Regions from separate parts of the Homo sapiens genome. Here region 2 is linked to region 1. The links are contacts of gene promoters, found by promoter capture Hi-C in human tissues and cell types (Jung and others, 2019). All regions are on one chromosome and are shown on one strand. The core of a region is centred on a gene start or on the middle of the fragment in contact, and the rest is flanking DNA. Distances in the headings are between cores, read along the strand shown. Region 1 holds the start of IFNGR2 (interferon gamma receptor 2). Region 2 overlaps IFNAR1 (interferon alpha and beta receptor subunit 1).

Region 1 (3,287 bases), core at 788-3,287:
GATCACGAGGTCAGGAGATCGAGACCAACCTGGCTAACACGGTGAAAACCCATCTCTACAAAAAACACAAAAAATTAGCCGGGTGTGGTGGCGTGCGCCTGCAGTCCCAGCTACTCGGGAGGCTGAGGCAGGAGAATGGTGTGAACCCAGAAGGCGGAGCTTGCAGTGAGCGGAGATCACACCACTGCACTCCAGCCTGGGTGACGGAGACTCTGTCTCAAATAAATAAATAAATAAATAAATAAATAAATAAATAAATAAATAAAATAAATAACCCTTGCCTTTCCCACTCCCCATACCCCACAATTCAACGTGATTGCTTTGGGGATAGGAATCCAACCACTTCCCCTTGCTAGCTTTGGAAATAAAGTCACTTTCTTTCCACCACATCTTGCTCTTGTTAGACTCTGCAAGCAGCCAGCGACTGAACCAGCATTCGGTTACATCCCCTGAGGCGGATGACACTTGTGTGATCCTGTAACCGATTTCTTGTTAGAATGTTGGCATCTTTCACCCAGTCGTTTTCTTGTAATTTTATTTATTTGTTTGAAAACAGAATCCTTCTTGCAATCCTGTCATTTTCAGTGCCTTTTTTTTTTTTTTTTTTTTTTTTTTTTTTTTTTTTTTTTGAGACGGAGTCTCGGTCTGTCACCCAGGCCGGGGTGCAGTGGCGCAATCTCCGCTCACTACAACCTCCGCCTCCCGGGTTCAAGTGATTCTCCTGTCTTAGCCCTCCAAGTAGCTGGGATTACAGGCGCCGGCCACCACGCCTGACTAATTTTTGTATTTTTAGTAGAGACGGGTTTCAGCCATATTGGCCAGGCTGGTCTCCAACTCCTGGCCTCATGTGATCCGCCCACCTCGGCCTCCTAAAGTGCTGAGATTACAGGCGTGAGCCACCGCGCCTGGCATCAGTGCATACTTTTTGAAGTGATTCCAAGTTATCGCCCGCTTTTTTCGTGTAACATATAAATACATCTCTGTATCTAGAAATATCCAATGCATAATTCAATTGTCTGCGAGGTATTTCATCACGTATTTTCACGAGCGTGGCCAATTTCAAAATAGTTCTACAAAGAGGAAATGCAAGAATGTGGGAAGAGCAAAAGAAAAGCTCTATGTTGCAAAACCCATTTTTGCTAACGTGTCCAGTGGGCTCCCGGGACGACCTGTTTTTAAATTCTTGGTCTCCCTGCACCGCGTCCCTCCTTTGCTGCGCTAGCTTTATGACGCATCTTGGAAGAACAGGGCAGATTTAAAACCCTCTCCCAACAGGCGTCAAACGACATGGTGCAGGCTCGGGCTGGGGAGCGGGCCTGCGGCTGCCCAGCTGCTAAAGGACTTCCTACTCGTGCACCGCCGCCGGCTCCAGGGCAAACCCCACGCCATTTAGAAATGCTGGAAGTTTCTGTCTCTCCCTCCCCCTGCTCGGAGGCCATTCCCCCCACCCCCAGAGCCCCACCTCCTCCTTCACTGGGCCCTTTCTAACTCCTTCCCCTTAAAACCCTTTTCAAAATGGGGTTGACTGGAGGCGGAGGTTGCAGTGAGCCGAGATCGCCCCACTGCACTCCAGCCTGGTGACTCCGTCTCAAAAAAAAGGGGAGGGGGGCGGGGGAGAGTTGAAAGCTTAATATGTACTTTGGGGGCTATTAAAGCAAACATTTCGACTAAAGGGGCGAATCCTCGAATTGTGCGATCAAGCACCCGAGAGGAGAGTTGGGGGGGGTCAGGAGGGGTGGGGGCTCCAGGGAAAGCCCGGGGGTCTGGGCCGGGGTCTCGCGGGGCCCTTCCGGAAGGATCGCGGCCCCCGAAGGTGGGCGTCCCGCGGGGCTCCAGTCTCCAGGACGTTCCGGGAGGCTCCGCGCTCTGGGAGGCCGGCTGCGTGGGGTCCCCGCGCTGCAGCCGCAGAGGCCCCCCAGGGCCGCGGTTCCCGGAGCGGGAAAGTCCCGCGCGGGGGCGGTGGCCTCGGGGGCGGGACGGGGCGGGGGCGGGGGCGCGGGCGGCCGAGCCGAATCCCCTCCACCGGGACGCCCCGCTGCTGCTCGGGAAGAGGCGGGCCCTGCGCGCCCTGCGCTCGCCATGGCGGTTTGGGCGGCGACGTGAGCGGCTCCGCGGACCCCGAGCGGGGCCCCGGCCGCGACCTGAGCCGCCGCCGAGCGCCCGGGGCCATGCGACCGACGCTGCTGTGGTCGCTGCTGCTGCTGCTCGGAGTCTTCGCCGCCGCCGCCGCGGCCCCGCCAGGTGAGCCGGGCCTGGGCCTCCGCGGCGGGACGCGGGCGCAGCCGCAGCATGTGGGGGCTGGGGGACTCCCGGATCGTGGGGTGGGGGGAATCTGCCGGGTGCTCAGAGTGGGTGGGAATCTGCGGGGTGCTCCTGGTGGGTGGGATATGCGGAGTGCTCAGATCAGGTGGGAACCTGCGGGTGCCCCAGGTGGGGGTCTTGCGGGGTGCCCAGGGCTAGAGGGGCCCGCTGGGAGCCCGCAGCGGGGCTGGGATGGGCGGCCAGGAGTTCCAGACAGGAGCTGGGCAGCAGCAGGAAGACGGGGGGCACCCCTCCTGGCGTCCTGGCCGCCGGGACACCCCTCTCCGGGAGAGGACACTCGGTGCCCCTCCGTGAAGCCGGTAACCTCGGCTGCGCCACCTCCCCCACCCGCGCGCCCGCGCCGGGAAAGCCAGCGTGGCCCCAGTCTCCGAATTTCTCGGAATGAACAACAGCAAATTGAATCCAGGGCTCCGGCGGGGGCCGCCTTTGCTGGCCACTGGTTCTGCAGCCTGGCGAGACTGCGCTTAGTCCCCGCCTGGAGTGCCTCCCGAAGGCCTGGCTGGAAGCTAGACTCAGTCCCTTTGTAGTAGCAGCGGTGGAGCAGGGACCAGCGTCTTGGACGGGTGACCCAGACTCAATTCCGACTTTGGCCGAGGGCATGTTTGACACTGGGTGTGAAATCTAGACAGTTCCCGCGGTCATAGAGATGGGGCAGCAGCATTCAGGCAGGGCTCAGAACTGTCCGGGTCCCATCAGTGTTGGGGCGGAAGAGGAAGAGTGTCAACTGAGCCAGGCATTTATTTATTTTATTGTTGTTTGAGACAGGGTGTCGCTCTGTCGCCCAGGCTGGAGTGCAGTGGGCAGCATCTCAGCTACTGCAGCCTCCGCCTCCCGTGCTCAAGCGATCCTCCCACGTCAGCCTCCCAAGAAGGTGGTATTATTGGCCACGCCTGGCCAATTTTTGTATTTTTTGTAGAGAGGAGGTCTCACTGTGTTGCCCAGGCTGTTCTTGTACTCCTGAGCTC
Region 2 (3,203 bases), core at 508-3,007, 63 kb before region 1:
CACTCTTCTGACTGCTTAGACTGCCTCAGTGAACAGGAGAGGCAAAGATGGCATGAAGTTATATTATGAAACGGATTTCATGAAGTAAATATTACATTAGTTACATATTCATATTTCATATTCTGTTCTGAGCTAATTATTGCATATGATAATAGTTTTTTTGTTGTTGGTTTTTTTTTTTTGAGACGGAGTCTTGCTCTGTTGCCCAGGCTGGAGTGCAATGGCGCAATCTCGGCTCACCGCAACCTCCGCCTCCCGGGTTCAAGCAATTCTCCTGTCTCAGCCTCCCGAGTGCCTGGGATTACAGGCATGCACCCCCACGCCCGGCTAATTTTGTATTTTTAGTAGAGACAGGATTTCTCCATGTTGATCGGGCTGATCTCGAACTCCTGATCTCAAGTGATCCACCCCCCTCGGCCTCCCAAAGTGCTGGGATTACAGGTGTGAGCCACCGAGCCCGGCCAATAATGATTTTTTTAAGAAAATATAAAAGTAGCTTCTGCTGCAATATCTTGATTAGATGTAAAACAGTTTTAATGGAGCATGCTTCAGCATCTCCTGAAGTAGGAAAGACAGATGTAAACAGTGAGGTTGGGTTGAAATTATATTAAGTTTTAAATTTTTGATAAGGTTTTCTGTTTATAATGAGAGTTTCTGGATTTTTAGAAATAGATTCTGATGTGGAACCTTTTCAAGAATGTTTAAGGTATTTTTAATGCCAGCTCTAATCTCAGGCCTCAGATATGTAAAAGTGGAAGTGAAAACTGGCCAAGAATGAAGTATTTCATATGCTAGTGTATATTTTTGGTAATTTCTTAAAAATGTTTCCATTTTGAAAAACAAGGTAGACTTGTATTTGGTTCAGCAACAAAATTATTTTGGTATTATCTCTGGTTTCTAATATCTAAATCGTCTTTAAAATGGCATCTGTGATATTATTAAAAATAAATAAATCAGCTAATGAATTAGGCTTGACAAAAATGCCTTCCCAGAAGATAGTTTCTCTGCTACTTATGGTCAATGGGCTTAACATAGGTAAAAGTTCTCAAATCTGCTAAATTGGCCGGGCATGGTGGCTCACGCCTGTAATCCCAGCACTTTGGGAGGCTGAGGTGGGCAGATCACCTGAGGTGAGGAGTTTAAGATCAGTCTAGCCAACATGGCAAAACCCCATCTCTACTAAAAAAAAAAATACAAAAATTAGCCAGACGTGGTGGCACACGCCTGTAATCACAGCTAGTTGAGAGGCTGAGGCAGGAGAATTGCTTGAACCTAGGAAGTGGAGGTTGCAGTGGGCCGAGATTGCACCACTGCACTCCAGCCTGGGCAACAGAGTAAGACTCTGTCTCAAAAAAAAAAAAAAAAAAAAAAAGAAATCTGCTAAGTTCGTTTCTATCCCTCACTTTCCCTGCAAGCTCTTCTTCCCCTTTCTGGGCAACATGTCCTTTTCTGCTTTAGGCACTCCATGCCCACTTTATTTTTCATGTTTGCCCCTTTTTTGAAAGGAAGAATCTAATATCACTTCAGCTTTCTGATTGGCCAGTTCCACTTCCAAAAATTTATTTGTTTATGTAAACATTTTCAGTTTTGTGGTTTCTGATGATGTAATAGAAGAAATTACGGAGACAGGCAAGCAGAAGGGATGGTTTGCTTTTGGAGAGGGCAGAGGAAACCTTGAAACCATACTGATTCTGAGGTCTTTCTTAGGGAAGGTAAGTCTATTCATAGGAGGAGGTCAGAAGGGAATCATCAAATCCAATTCCCCAGTTTCTATTTAATTTTATTTTATTAGAGACAGGGTCTTGCTCGGTTGCTGAGGCTGGAGTGCAGTGATATGATCATAGCCTACTGCAGCCTGCAGCCTTGAACCCCTATGCTCAAATGACCCTCTCACCTCAGCCTACCCAGTAGCTAGGACTGTGGGCATGTGCCACCATGCCCTGCTTTGCCTTTTTTTTTTTTTATTTCTCATAGAGACAGGGTTTGCTATGTTGACCAGGCTCCAAACTTTCAATAAGGAAGATAAGATCCAGAAACACAAAATAGTTTACCAAAAGTCACACAGCTATTTTTAACAGAGCCAACATACTAAATCCACTTTTACCTTATGGGTCATTTATTTCTCTGCTTCCTGAAGCAACCACCCACAAAATTATATAAAGAACTGTATTTTAAAATTCAGTTTCATAAGTAATAACTTGGCTTATATGCATTGAAAAAGAGTGGAAGGGTGTATGCTAAAATGTTAATAGGACATTAGCTCAAGTAGAAGAAATAACTCTTAAACCAAAAATAGAAATAACTCTTAAACAAGAGTTATTAAGAGTTAAGAAATAACTCTTATACCAGTAAATAGAAAGTATTTGACACTTACATTTATACATTTGCTCACTCATTCATTTGTTTTTTTTACTTTAAAGAACTGGGATGGATAATTGGATAAAATTGTCTGGGTGTCAGAATATTACTAGTACCAAATGCAACTTTTCTTCACTCAAGCTGAATGTTTATGAAGAAATTAAATTGCGTATAAGAGCAGAAAAAGAAAACACTTCTTCATGGTATGAGGTTGACTCATTTACACCATTTCGCAAAGGTAAGAAAAAGTTGCTAGCTGAATTATATTCTTTAGTAAATATTACCAGAGCAGTTCACTTTCCAAGCCATTCATTTGCATGATGCAAAATCTAACATCTTTTAAAAAGAACAAAAATTCCCTTAAACCTATATCTTCTTCCTGCTATGGCTCCATTTGTCCTACTTTCCCTGTAGTAGTGGTTCTCAAAGAGTGATCCTCAAGGCCCTTTCAGGGGGCTGTAAAGACAAAGCTATATTTATGACAAATCTAAGACTTAGTTGCCTTTTTAATTTTTGTTCTTTCTTGTATTCACAGTGGAGTTTTCCAGAGGAGGCTGTTTGATGTGTGATGTGGTGATATGGTCACTGATTTAACATAGAATTCAATGTGAAATTCATCTGCCTTCTTTATTAATCCAAACATTCAAAAGATTTGGAAAAAAAATGTAAAACAGCACCACTCTGAAGTTTCTATGTTCCTTTTGGCAAATGTTTGTTACCATAAAATAGGTTTATCATTGTTATTTCTTTCTTTTTTTTTTTGAGACAGAGTTTTGTTCTTGTTGCCCAGGCTGGAGTGCAATGGCACAATCACGGCTCACTACAGCCTCTGCCTCCTGGGTTCA

What was found. The method cuts DNA at HindIII sites, captures the fragments that hold promoters and counts their contacts. A contact is called where the count stands out against the background at its distance.
Region 2: a fragment that was not itself captured here is called in contact with the fragment with the promoter of IFNGR2 in region 1 in 1 of the 25 tissues and cell types used here (spleen).

Annotation. Positions count from the first base shown.
Region 1 is chr21:33,401,376-33,404,662 of GRCh38, forward strand. IFNGR2 (interferon gamma receptor 2) reads left to right here and starts at 2,038. Exons shown (of 7, transcript NM_005534.4): 1 at 2,038-2,241. The coding sequence starts at 2,169. RefSeq lists cis regulatory regions at 583-1,770, 1,155-1,770, 1,753, 1,763, 2,040 and 2 more, promoters at 986-2,142, 986-1,624, 996-2,163, 1,758-2,162 and silencers at 1,717-2,256, 2,267-2,346, 2,367-2,416, 2,557-2,606. The HindIII fragment of the contact is 6,342 bases long and covers 1-3,287 here.
Region 2 is chr21:33,338,579-33,341,781 of GRCh38, forward strand. IFNAR1 (interferon alpha and beta receptor subunit 1) reads left to right here. Exons shown (of 11, transcript NM_000629.3): 3 at 2,421-2,596. Among named protein-coding and RNA genes, the nearest start is that of IFNAR1, 15 kb to the left of the region's middle. The HindIII fragment of the contact is 9,296 bases long and covers 1-3,203 here.